Regions from separate parts of the Homo sapiens genome. Here regions 1 and 3 are each linked to region 2. Evidence: promoter capture Hi-C in human tissues and cell types (Jung and others, 2019). All regions are on one chromosome and are shown on one strand. Each heading gives the region's core, a stretch centred on a gene start or on the middle of the fragment in contact. The rest is flanking DNA. Distances are from core to core; before and after follow the strand shown.

What was found. The method cuts DNA at HindIII sites, captures the fragments that hold promoters and counts their contacts. A contact is called where the count stands out against the background at its distance.
Region 1: a fragment that was not itself captured here is called in contact with the fragment with the promoter of KDR in region 2 in 2 of the 25 tissues and cell types used here (mesenchymal stem cells and ovary).
Region 3: a fragment that was not itself captured here is called in contact with the fragment with the promoter of KDR in region 2 in 2 of the 25 tissues and cell types used here (adrenal gland and spleen).

The regions. Positions count from the first base shown.
Region 1 is chr4:55,167,597-55,172,389 of GRCh38, reverse strand. No RefSeq gene overlaps it. Among named protein-coding and RNA genes, the nearest start is that of KDR, 44 kb to the right of the region's middle. RefSeq lists an enhancer at 1,830-2,659. The HindIII fragment of the contact is 3,718 bases long and covers 1,579-4,793 here.
Region 2 is chr4:55,123,453-55,127,731 of GRCh38, reverse strand. It overlaps KDR (kinase insert domain receptor), which reads left to right and starts at 2,137. Exons shown (of 30, transcript NM_002253.4): 1 at 2,137-2,505. The coding sequence starts at 2,439. The HindIII fragment of the contact is 13,799 bases long and covers 1-4,279 here.
Region 3 is chr4:55,065,182-55,069,531 of GRCh38, reverse strand. No RefSeq gene overlaps it. Among named protein-coding and RNA genes, the nearest start is that of KDR, 58 kb to the left of the region's middle. The HindIII fragment of the contact is 4,752 bases long and covers 218-4,350 here.

The sequences.
Region 1 (4,793 bases), core at 2,188-4,687, 43 kb before region 2:
CTTTCTTTAAAAATTATTAATCATAATTTGTAGAAAAATAAAACTACTCTTCTGAATGTCTTATCAGCCTGAGGTACTCAAGGTTACCACACTGAATTGATGTAATTCTAGCTACAAGTGGAACACAAGTTGTCTTAGCTCTTCTAAGCAGCCTTATTACCAGCAAACCCATCATTTCTCCTAGGCTTTGTGGAATGTTGAAAAGTCCTTCTGCAGCACCAGTAATGTCTCTCCAGACTCTTCAGGGGACTTGGAGCCTCAACATCTGTTTTGTAGGGGGCCCTAGGAAAGAAGGAAGTCCCTTTCCAATACAGTGTCAGATTCAAGTAAAATTAATGTTTTAATTTATTTGAAAATCACTTAAAGATGAGAAGAAAAAGATTCATAACTCTAGCCACTTAGACAAATATGAGAAGAGTGCCTCTGTTGGTCCCTCTCATGCCACGCTGCAGAGGTAACTGCTATTAAAAAAAAAAAAGGTGTGTATTATTCTCATTTCTTTTTTTTTTTTTTTTTTTTTTTGAGATGGAGTCTCGCTTTGTCACCCAGCCTGGAAGGCAATGGCATGATCTCGGCTCACTGCAACCTCCGCCTCCCGGGTTCAAGCGATTCTCCTGCCTCAGCCTCCTGAGTATCTGGGATTACAGGTGCGCACCTTCACGCCTGTCTAATTTTTGTATTTCTAGTAGAGATGGGGTTTCACCATGTTGGTCAGGCTGGTCTCGAACTCCTGACCTTGTGATCCACCCGCCTTGGCCTCCCAAAGTGCTGGGATTATAGGCGTGAGCCACCGTGCCCGACCCCCATTTCTTTCCTTAGCTGTGCAATTATATTTACATCTACTTTATTCAAATGGGATGAAATTTGCTGTTTTTTTTTTTTCTTGAGACAGGGTCTCACTCCATCACCCATGCTGGAGTATAGTGGCGTGATCTCTGCTCACTGCAACCTTCACCTCCTGGGCTCAAGTGATCCTCCCACTTCAGCCTCCCGAATAGCTGGGACCACAGGCTGGGTGCCACCATGTCCGGCTAATTCTTTTGTATTTTTTATAGAGACAGGGTTTCACCATGTTTCCCATGCTGGTCTTAAATTCCTGAGCTCAATCGATACATCCTCCTTGGCCTTCCAAAGTGCTAGGATTACAGGTATAAGCCACTGCACCTGGCCCCCAGTTTTTCCTTTTTATTTTTATTTATTTATTTATTTTTTGAGACAGAGTCTCGCTCAGTTGCCCAGGCTGGAGTGCAGTGGTGTGATCTCATCTCACTGCACTGAGGTCACTGCACCTCGGCTCACTGCACCTCGGCTCACCGCACCACCTCCCAGGTTCACGCCATTCTCCTGCCTCAGCCTCCTGCATAGCTGGGACTACAGGCACCTGCCACCACGCCCGGCTAATTTTTTTTTTTTTTTGTATTTTTAGTAGAGACAGGGTTTCACTGTGTTAGCCAGGATGATCTCGATCCCCTGACCTTGTGATCCACCTGCCTCAGCCTCCCAAAGTGCTGGGATTACAGGCATGAGCCAGTGCGCCTGGCCAGTTTTTCCTTTTTAAAAATAGTTATAATGAGATATACGCAAATGTGAAATGGTACAGCCACTTTGGAAAACATTAGCAGTTTACTATAAAATTAAACAGACACTTAACATATGACCCACCAATCCCACTTCTAGCTGTTTATCCCAAAGAAATGAAAACATGCCCACACAAAAGCCATGTACGTGAATATTCAGAGCAAAAAAATGAAAACAACTCGAATGTTTATGAACTCATGAATGGAAAAACAAATTGTGGTATATTCATGTGATGTCGTACTACTCAGCAATTAAAAGGAACAAAGCATAAATACACATAATGACATCGATGACTCAAAAGCTGTGTGCAGTGGCTGGGTGTGGTGGCACTCACCTATATTCCCAGCTACTCAGGAGGCTGAGGCACGAGAATCATTTGAACCCAGGAGGAAGAGGTTGCAGTGAGCCAAGATCGTGCCATTGTACTCCAGCTTGAGCAACACAGTGAGACTGTATCTTAAAAACAAAAAACAAAAAACAAAACAAAAAAAACTATGTGCAATGGAACTCAAACACAAAAGTCTATGTATGTATGATTCCATCTATACCTAGAAAAGCCAAAACTCGGGGTCACTTCCAAGGTGGCCAAATAGGAACAGCTCTGGTCTGCAGCTCCCAGCGAGATCGACACAGAAGATGGGTGATTTCTGCATTTCCAGCTGAGGTACCGACTCACTGGGACTGGTTGGACAGTGGGTGCAGCCCACGGAAGGTGAGCTGAAGCAGGGTGGGGCGTCACCTCACCTGGGAAGCACAAGGGGTTGGGGGATTTCCCTTTCCTAGTCAAGGGAAGCCATAACAGACTGTACCTGGAGAAACGGTACACCCCTGACCACATACTGCACTTTATCTGCAGTCTTAGCAACGAGAAGATACCCTCCCATGCCTGGCTCGGCAGTACCATGACCACGGAGCCTTCCTCACTGCTAGCGCTGCAGTCTGAGATCAACCTGTGACACTGCAGCTTGATGCGGGGAGGGGCATATGACATTGCTGAATCTTGAGTAGCTCACAGCGTAAACAAAGAGGCTGGGAAGCACGAACTGGGCGGAGCCCACCACAGCTCAGCAAGGCCTACCGCCTCTATAGATTCCACCTCTGGGGCAGGGCATAGTAGAACAAAAGGGAGCAGACAGCTTCTGCAGACTTAAAAGTCCCTGTCTGACAGCTCTGAAGAGAGCAGTGGATCTCTCAGCATGGTGTCCGAGCTCTGAGAACAGACACACTGCCTCCTTAAGCGGGTCCCTGACCCCCATGTAGTCTGACTGGGAAACACCTACCAGTAGGGGCCGACAGACATCTCAAACAGGTGGGTTCCCTTCTGGGAAGAACCTTCCAGAGGAAGGTTCAGGCAGCAATATTTGCTGTTCTGCAGCCTCCACTGGTGATAACCAGGCAAATAGGGTCTGGAATGGACCTCCAGCAAATTCCAGCAGACCTGCAGCTCAGAGGTCTGACTGTTAGAAGGAAAACTAACAAACAGAAAGGAATAGCATCAACATCAACAAAAAGGGCATCCACACCAAAACCCCACCTGTAGGTCACCAACCTCAAAGACCAAAGGTAGATAAAATCGCAAAGATGGGGAGAAACTAGAGCAGAAAAGCTGAAAATTCCAAAAAACAGAACACCTCTTCTCCTCCAAAAGATCACAGCTCCTCGCCAGCAAGAGAACAAAACTGGACAGAGAATGAGTTTGACGAGTTGACAGAAGTAAGCTTCAGAACGTTGGTAATAAAAAACTTCTCCTAGCTAAAGGAGCATATTCTAACCCATTGCAAGGAAGCTAAAAACCTTGAAAAAATGTTACATGAATGACGAACTGGAATAAACAGTGTAGAGAAGACCTTAATGACCTGATGGAGCTGAAAACCGTGGCACAAGAACTTCGTGACGCATGCACAAGCTTCAATAGTCGATTCGATCAAGTGGAAGAAAGAATATCAGTGATTGAAGATCAAATTAATGAAATAAAGTGAGAAGACAAGATCAGAGAAAAAAAGAGTAAAAAGAAATAAAGCCTCCAAGAAATATGGGACTATGTGAAAAGACCAAATCTACATCTAATTGGTGTACTAGAAAGTGATGGGGAGAATGGAAACAAGTTAGAAAACACTCTTCAGGATATTATCCAGGAGAACATCCCTAAGCTAGCAAGGCAGGCCAACATTCAAATTCAGGAAATACAGAGAACACCACAAAGATACTCCTCGAGAAGAGCAACCCCAACACACATAATTGTCAGATTCACCAAGGTTGAAAGGCAGGAAAAAATTTTAAGGGTGGCCAGAGAGAAAGGTCGGGTTATCCACAAAGGGAAGCCCATCAGACTAACAGCAGATCTCTCGGCAGAAACCCTACAAGCCAGAAAAGAGTGGGGGCCAATATTCGACATTCTTAAAGAAAAGAATTTTCAACTCTGAATCACATATCCAGCTAAACTAAGCTTCATAAGTGAAGGACAAATAAAATCCTTTACAGAAAAGCAAATGCTGAGAGATTTTGTCACCACCAGGCCTGCCCTACAAGAGCTGCTGAAGGAAGCACTAAACATGGAAGGGAGCAACCGGTACCAGCCACTGCAAAAATATGCCAAATGGTAAACAGCATTGACGCTGTGAAGAAATACCTCAATTAATGGGCAAAATAACCAGCTAAAATCATAATGACAGGATCAAATTCAAACATAACTATATTAACCTTAAATGTAAATGGGCTAAATGCCCCAATTAAAAGACACAGACTGGCAAATTGGATAAAGAGTCAAGACCCATCAGTATGCTATATTCAGGACACCCATCTCACATGCAAAGATGCACATAGGCTCAAAATAAAGGGATGGAGGAATATCTACCAAGCAAATGGATGGTAAAAAAAAAAAAAAAAAAAAAAAACAGGGGTTGCAATCCTAGTCTCTGATAAAACAGACTTTAAACCAACAAAGATCAAAAGAGACAAAGAAGGCCACTACATAATGGTAAAGGGATCAATTCACCAGGAAGAGCTAACTATCCTAAATATATATGCACCCAATACAGGAGCACCCAGATTCATAAAGCAAGTCCGTAGAGACCTACAAAGAGACTTAAACTCCCACACAATAATAATGGGATACTTTAACACCCCATTGTCAATATTAGACAGATCAATGAGGCAGAAGGTTAACAAGGATATCCAGGACTTGAGCTCAGCTCTGAACCAAGTGGACCTAATAG
Region 2 (4,279 bases), core at 888-3,387:
CTCTGCCAAATTCTGGTCTTGCGGCCATCAAAGACGCATCATTTCCTCCAAGACTTCTAAAGGGGGCTATTACCACGGGCCTGCAGGTTCTGGTTTGCATTCAGAGGAGACACTATCTTCTTAAATGAGACATGGAAGAGGAAGTGTCATGAACTGTAAATAAGGCTGATAGGGAATTGTTTGGTGATGGGGATGGAGAAAAACTGCCCTCTCCAAACCAGGTTCCATCTCCCACCCCTTTATCCAACTTTGCCAGAGTCCATCCTATTTTATTTGCTGAGTTTACTAGCAGGAAGAGAGGAGTTTCTTTAAAGATTCTCTCCCCTCCCCAAATAAATACCTCCCAGATAAATATGAGTACATCTATATAGTAGAGCACTATGCCAACATTGAAAAGATGGAAGGATGGAGCTTTGTTCGCAGCCAGCTTAGGCAACATAGTGAGACCCTGCCTCTATATAAAAATAAATAAATAAATAAATAAATAAATAAATAAATAAAAGATGGAGCTTTAAAGGTTGATGTAGAACGAATCTCCAGTGTATATTATAAAGTGAAGGCTGGGCAGGGTGGCTCGTGCTTGTAATCCCAGCACTTTGGGAGACTGAGGCAGGAGGATGGACTGAGTCCAGGCATTGGAGACCAGCCTGGGCAACATAGTGAGACCTTGTCTCAAATAAATAAATCAAATTTAAAGGGAAAAAAGCCAAGGCTCAAATAGCATTTATACCAAGCAATTGTGGGAAGAGAAGGGTGACATGTCTACATACTTGTGTTTAAGAATCTGCTTGGAAAAAAAAGGAAACATAAAAATGCCTCTGCCAAAAGAAAAGTCTTTTCACTCTAAGCCTTTTTGTGTTTTTCCAAAATTTTTTTTTGCCATATACATTCATTATATTTCAGCATTAAAATATTTCACCTGTCAACTTGGAAAAGTAAAAGCGTGAATACAGTAAATATTTAAAAACAGATGAAGATAAGTAACAGGTTACATTAATTGTATACAATCAATCTAGTTTGAATTAGGTGTAGATATAATAATTCTGTGTGTTTATCTTGGTGAAGAATGGTCCTTTAGGTTGTCATTAAAAAGCACCTCTGGGAGGTAAAAGACATAGGCATCTGGAAGATTCATATTTAATGAAGTTAGGGGACATTTGATGTCACTCCCCAGGTGTGGGGAGATATGGACAGAAAACCAGAAGGAACGAATGTGGTCAGGAAGGAATTGGAGTTCCCCTCCAAACAGCTGCCACAAGAAGTCCACACACGTGGAGACAGTTGTGCAATTTGGTCACAGAGTGTCCTAGGTGCTTTTGCTTCATTGCTCCTCCACTGAAGCACGCTGGCAGCTGGCCTCCTTCCCCTGGGACTAAGGATATCTTGGCTGGAAGCTCTGCTCTGAAAAGGGGCATGGCCAAACTTTCACTAGGGCTCTTCGTTGGGGAGCACGATGGACAAAAGCCTTCTTGGGGCTAGGCAGGTCACTTCAAACTTGGAGCCGCCAAATATTTTGGGAAATAGCGGGAATGTTGGCGAACTGGGCAAGTGCGTTTTCTGATTAAGAGCAACCAGATTCAGCTTTTTAAACTACAATTATACTGGCCAAACAAAATACCCTTATACAAAAACCAAAACTACTGGCAGGAGTCGCTGCCAGCTTGCGACCCGGCATACTTGGCTGAGTATCCGCTTCTCCCTTGTGGCTCCAAACTGCTGCAGATTCTCGGCCACTTCAGACGCGCGCGATGGCGAAGAGGGTCCTGCACTTTGACGCGCCTGGTGAGGGAGCGCTGCTCTTCGCAGCGCTCCTGGTGATGCTCCCCAAATTTCGGGGACCGGCAAGCGATTAAATCTTGGAGTTGCTCAGCGCCCGTTACCGAGTACTTTTTATTTACACCAGAAACAAAGTTGTTGCTCTGGGATGTTCTCTCCTGGGCGACTTGGGGCCCAGCGCAGTCCAGTTGTGTGGGGAAATGGGGAGATGTAAATGGGCTTGGGGAGCTGGAGATCGCCGCCGGGTACCCGGGTGAGGGGCGGGGCTGGCCGCACGGGAGAGCCCCTCCTCCGCTCCGGCCCCGCCCCGCATGGCCCCGCCTCCGCGCTCTAGAGTTTCGGCACCAGCTCCCACCCTGCACTGAGTCCCGGGACCCCGGGAGAGCGGTCAATGTGTGGTCGCTGCGTTTCCTCTGCCTGCGCCGGGCATCACTTGCGCGCCGCAGAAAGTCCGTCTGGCAGCCTGGATATCCTCTCCTACCGGCACCCGCAGACGCCCCTGCAGCCGCGGTCGGCGCCCGGGCTCCCTAGCCCTGTGCGCTCAACTGTCCTGCGCTGCGGGGTGCCGCGAGTTCCACCTCCGCGCCTCCTTCTCTAGACAGGCGCTGGGAGAAAGAACCGGCTCCCGAGTTCTGGGCATTTCGCCCGGCTCGAGGTGCAGGATGCAGAGCAAGGTGCTGCTGGCCGTCGCCCTGTGGCTCTGCGTGGAGACCCGGGCCGCCTCTGTGGGTAAGGAGCCCACTCTGGAGGAGGAAGGCAGACAGGTCGGGTGAGGGCGGAGAGGACCTGAAAGCCAGATCTAACTCGGAATCGTAGAGCTGGAGAGTTGGACAGGACTTGACATTTTGCGATCTTTCATTTACCAGTGGGGAAACTGAGGCTCAGAGACTGGCCCAAGATTACCCAGCGAGTCTGTGGTCGCCTGTGCTCTAGCCCAGTTCCTTTTCTAGGACTCTGGTTTGCGACAGGGACCTCGGCTGGAGCATGTCCTGAGATGCCGACACACCCTCAGGCTCTTGGGAGGCTGGGGTGGGAAGGCGCCTGGGGTTGGCAGGCAGGAGGTGCCTCCGCAGGCGAGAACAGGCGGTGAAAAGTTGTCTGGCTGCGCGCAACATCCTAGTCCGGGCCCGGGGAAGAAAACCTTGCCGGAATCTCAGGCCGGGTCTCCCGGATCGGACGGTACACTCGGTTCTGCCTCTTTGCGGGACCCGGCCCGTTGTTGTCTTCATGCTCGAACACACTTGCACACCACTGTGTGAAGTGGGGTCTGGAGCGGAGAGAAACTTTTTTTCCTTCCTTGGTGCAGGACGCCGCTCTCCTTGCAGAGCGAAGAAGGGGGGGAATAGGGACTTGTCCTGGGGGCTTTGACAGCTTCCCCAAGGGTCTCCAAGTAACAGCCAACTGTCCTGCGTAAAGCATTGCACATCTTTCAAAGCGCTGTGGTCCTTGGTGTAAGCGCATAGTCAGAAGTTCAAGCTCCGAAAACCTTTCCTGTGGGCCTTGGTACCTAGCTTTAGTGCCATTCCTTCCTCTCCCTGCCGCCTAAAATTTCCGTCTCCTTCAATTAGGAACACACACGTTCTTCATGCAATAGCTGTCTGTCTTTTCTTCCTCACTTTCCTTTCTCTCTCAACCCCTTAGATAATATTTCTTTCCTGCAGCCAGTTTGCTGATATCCAGATTTCCACCCTTTGCAGGGTGAGAAAGGGGAAAGGGTCAGAGAAAGAAAAAAAAAAAGTCGAATAATTCAGGGAAAAAAATTTCTTACTCCCTAAGACAAGAATCACATGTCTTAGAAGACACTCACACCCACATACAGTACCAGGATCATCTGTCCATGGTTACTGAATTTTCTTTATAATGACTTGGTTCAACGGGTCCAGTCCACCATGGACACTCATTTGTCCCAGACAAGCCCTCTCTCTCCCCCTTTCTGGGCAGAGAATGAAGGTCTGGAACATGTGGTTGCTCTGTATTCCACAAAGAAGTGAGTTGCTTTTAAGCCTGGGGTGTTTCCTAGCGTAGTAGTAACGGCAGGCCGGTCGCCCTGAATATAATGGTGAACTTGCCCTTTTGGAGTGCATTACTTGCTTAATTGGATTGGGCTGTAATTGGTGCCATCAAATTCTAGAGACAGAGGCACTGTTGTTTTTCCTTCCCGTCTTTGAGCTGGAAGGGTAACAGTGCACAAATTAATTAATATTGGTTATGGGATTTGAACATAGAAGGGCTTTTTATTGAGTAGTAGCATGTGTACCTCTTACAGTTATTTCTTTAGAACTTTCTGAAGAGTCCAGCTCAAGCTTGCCAATGAAAACGAATGACATTTAATGGAGCAAAAACAAAAAACAAAAAACTATGTTGGTCTACAAATATGAATTTGAAGTTATTGAGAGCCTTGTTGAATAGATTTTTGTTGTAAACGTGTCTCTAGAATAGTATGGCATAGTCTCAGCTTCCTATGAATGAAGGACATACCTTTTCTTTTTTAAAATATTTGTTA
Region 3 (4,350 bases), core at 1,344-3,843, 59 kb after region 2:
GGCCAAGGAGCTGAGTCCAGGATGGGGGAAGCAGGGAAGTGACTCTGTGAGTCACAGGCTGGAAAGCTACAGCCTGCCCCTCTGCTACGGGCTCTTCACACAGGGAGACATTTCCTGATCTTTGCACTCTGCATCACCTCCTTGCATGAGTTTCTTAAGACAAGGTCTTTAGCTGAATTGTTATAAGCCAAGGGAAGGAGTGTTTTTAGTGTCTGCCAAGCCTGGGAATCTCCCAAGCCTTGAGAAAATAGTATGTGAGGCAAATTGGCTTCCCTGCGGAGACCTCCCTTGCCATGGTGGCAAAAGGAAGCCAGCAGCATTGACTTGTTTCCTTGGGGGTTGGAAGGGTTTAGCTAGCTTGTGTTAAAAAGCCAAAGACGTTTATCCTTTAAACACAAGTGTTACTATTATAATAGTCCTCCCACAGCATCCTTGGGAAGGACAAAGACTTCACTTTGACTTTGGCTAAAGATATCCCATGATCCTCTGGGACTTGAGCACCCAAGCTCCACATTGTATGAAGGTTGACATCGGACATGCTGGTCACCTTGTGAGTAGAATTGACATGTGGTCATCCGGGTCTGGACCCTTGACCTTTGACTGGTTTATGGAGGATAGAAGGCAGGGAGGAATCTTCCCCCTTGGCTTTGGCCTGCTGGTTTCTAGTTCAGGATGAGACCCTGTTCAGGCCTGTCCTTCAGCCTGTAGACTAATTAGACCCTAGAAGACGTTCGTGGAGTCATTTGGAAACTGCACGGGTGCTCAAACATATGGCACTGATAAGGATCACAGCCTTAGAGATAAGGAGCTATTTAACGGAATCTGAGGAAGCCCAGGGTTTGTTTTCATAAAGCTGGACAATGTAAAGTGTAATCCCTACACAGATGTAATTAGCTGTTAAGCGTATTAAGTCCGCAAGGAGAGGACACTCTGGCTGGTTCATAAATTACTGTGAGTCCACCCCAGGGAAACCGAATCAATGGCAGGTATCTTTTCCTGATAGATCATTAGAATGGCAACTAGTGATGGATCAGGAGGGTGATCTTACGGGGTCCTAAGGAAACAGGACATGGAGGAACCACAGCCATGAATGACCAAGGGCCCTGGCGCCTTTTGTTTCCATAAAAAAGGCAGCTTTGAAGAAGTCATAGCTGCCTTAGCTCAGTACGGCAGCCACTCAGTGTTTTCTGCTAATTCCAGGGTTTGGCACTTTGATGTTAGGTTGCATGGAAATGCTAGAGGATCCTGGTGAAGGTTGCTTCCCCTGCAGAACAGCAAATGGATGCTGGGCAAGCCTATTAAAGCTGTAGCTTTGCATGGGGTTAGCAGTCTGGAGGCTCTAAGTCCCATTTCTAGCCAAGCAGTTGCTAAATGGCTTTCACTTCATGTGCCAATGTCATTTCCACTGATTTAATATTAACAATAATAACAAAAATGATAATAACCTAAGATTATTAAGAGCTAATTTCACTAGGCAGAGTAATACACAGTTACATATCTGTTATCTAATGTATTTCTCACAACAACCCTATGAGCTAGCTACTAATATTATCACCAATTTACAGATGAAGAAACTGAGGTTTAGACATGTTAACTTAATGTGTCCAAAGTTATATAGTTAGTAAGTAGTAGATCTGGGTTTTCACTCCAGAAGCTGATTTCAGAATTTATGATTGTAACAAATAATTTGGGGCTCATTAGTAACATTTCTCAATGCCTTGTGGAAAAATCTGCCATTCTTCAGATTCCAGTTGATATCAAGACCAACCAAAAATAAGTGACAAAGATGTATCGACAGAGCTTATAATAATATGTTCTTTCATATATCATTTCTTGCCTGGTCTAGCCTGATCTTTGGAAATTCATTGGGGCTTTTATGTCACAATTAACTTTACGTTGTTTGGGAACTTTTTGAGATGGTGAAAGCACAGAGCAGTCGTGAAAAGCACTTGCTATCATATTTTTGGATTTCTTCAATATTTTATAGAAATGAGACTTCTCAAGCAAATAACCAACAGTTGGGATGGGATGCTGGGGAGATTATCACAAGTTAAAATTTAGGATTTTAAAGTAAAATCTGGCTGGGCACGATGGCTCACACCTGTAATCCCAGCACTTTGGGAGGCTGAGGCAGGCAGATCACGTGAGTTCAGTAGTTTGAGACCAGCCTGGCCAACATAATGAAACCCCATCTCTACTAATACAAATATTAGCCGGTTATGGTGGTGGGTGCCTGTAATACCAGTTGCTCAGGAGGTTGAAGCAGGAGAATCACTTGAAGCTGGGAGGCAGAAGTTGCAGTGAGCCAAGATCATGATATTGCACTCCAGCCTGGGCGACAAGAGTGAAACTCCATCTCAAAAAAAAAAAAAAAAAAAAAAAAAAAAAAAAAAAAAAAAAAAAAAAAAGAAAAAGAAAAAGAAAAGAAGAAAGAAAAAGAAAAAAGAAGTAAAATCTTGAGAAAGGTTCTTTCCTTTGAATTGGCCAGTTAGCCCTCCAGTAGAAGGCTCTCTGGAGAGTGTGGGAGCCTGGGCAGCAGCAGTTACTTCTGGGGAGATGGTTGTTATACAGATACTACCTTTTTGCAAGTTCACATTCTCTTTCTCTTCTGGTCTTCTCCATGCATCTTTCATTCAGAAATATTTGACTACTGAAAATATCTTCTTTGCAAATACAATTTACATTCACTAGAGGCAAACTGTGATGTCACTGATGTCAGATGCTATCTGAATCTTCAATCCACTGACATGTGATGAAAAAAAAATACCTAGGGACAGAATCACTTTAAGTGGAAGCTTAAATGATTTCTCTTAAACAACGAGAGATTCTCCCACCAGACACTCAATTAAAAGTTAGTCCCAGGCTACTCCTGACCTCTGCAACCTGCTGGGTTCTTAGTCTGCAAGAATTAAGCTCTGTATTGTAATACACTGAGTCCATACGTGGAGACAGTATGACTGTCCTGAACATTTAACATACCAGGTGAGCAATAGACATAGAATGGCAAGACAGTAAGTGGCCTTTGCGGCTAAGCAAGGACCAGGTAGGTCTGGAACAGGGAGTGCCCAGGTCAGCCAGGCTATGCTGGGAGGAAAACATAGCTTACTCTATATCTTATCAATTGCCATTTTCTGTGATTTAAGACAGCACCGTATTCAATTTTTCAAAAGTGTGTTGGGGGTGGGGTGGGGCAGGCATGGATGGAAATCTTCTAAATGCCATAGTGCTCATTTCCAGAGCCTTCGTGAGATAACGTCCCACCAGGAGCTGTGTGGGGGCACTTAAGGGTAGCTTTGCCTTAAGGCAAAATAATAATCACAAAGCGATCTTTACTTTTTCTGATAAAGCTCTCCATCTTGCCTACTGGCAGAAGCTGGTGAACGTTATATTTGAGTTAAGCACTAAAAGCAGCAGGGAGCATTGAGATAAATTGCTGCAATTATTAACTTACTTGCTGTTTAATGGCACAAAAACCATCAGTAGTATGGTGGGCTTGACCGGGTTCCCACAGTGATCGTGAGATTTTTGGGTCTGGCTTATTATATTTTATTGGTAGCCCACAGCTTGTGCTGATGGTACAGCCATGACTGGGAAGTGTTAGTGCCTGAAAGGTGCATAGTTGTCTCCTCAGCCAAGTGTACTCCCAGGGCCAGGGCAGAGAGAGTGGTGGGCCAGTTTGGAGTTGTCATTCTCATTTGGGATTCTGTGATTTTTTTTTTTTTTACTATTTATCTCAAGAGACAGCTTTGTTATGCCGTTGCACCCACCAACTGTTCAGATATGGTACTTTCAATGATGTGTATTACGAACTGATGCCGCAGTAGATATCCGAGAGCTTGTTGAACTCTCTTTTAAAAAGGTACTATTTATAACAGCCCTCTGCTAAACATGATTTTAAGAATGTACTTGCATAAAAAAAACTTTTTGAAGTTTGTTGGGAATTTATAGAAACTCAAGGTATGAAGATTGTAAAGGCCTGTACTTTCCACAATGTACCAACCAAAACCATGAGATATTTAAATACTGTATTCATTTGACAGTCCTACCCAAACTCAATATTTGCTAAAAATACAGTAAAAAGGTAACTCTTTACAAAGTATTTCTGGAAAACATAAAATATATACTTTTATTAAATGACTAAGCAGGTTCTTTCACGTCTTTAATCCTTAATGTGTTACAAATATCCAAAGTCACCTGGAATTGGCTTTGGATGGGTTTCGCTATAAATGCCCGGGAAACAGAAGAAATCAATAATGCTGCACTTTAGAAGCCAAGATCTCAGTTCCAGGAGGAACCTAGGTGTGAAAATCTCAAAACAAATCTCTGCTTTGAAGGTTTTAAAAAAACCCA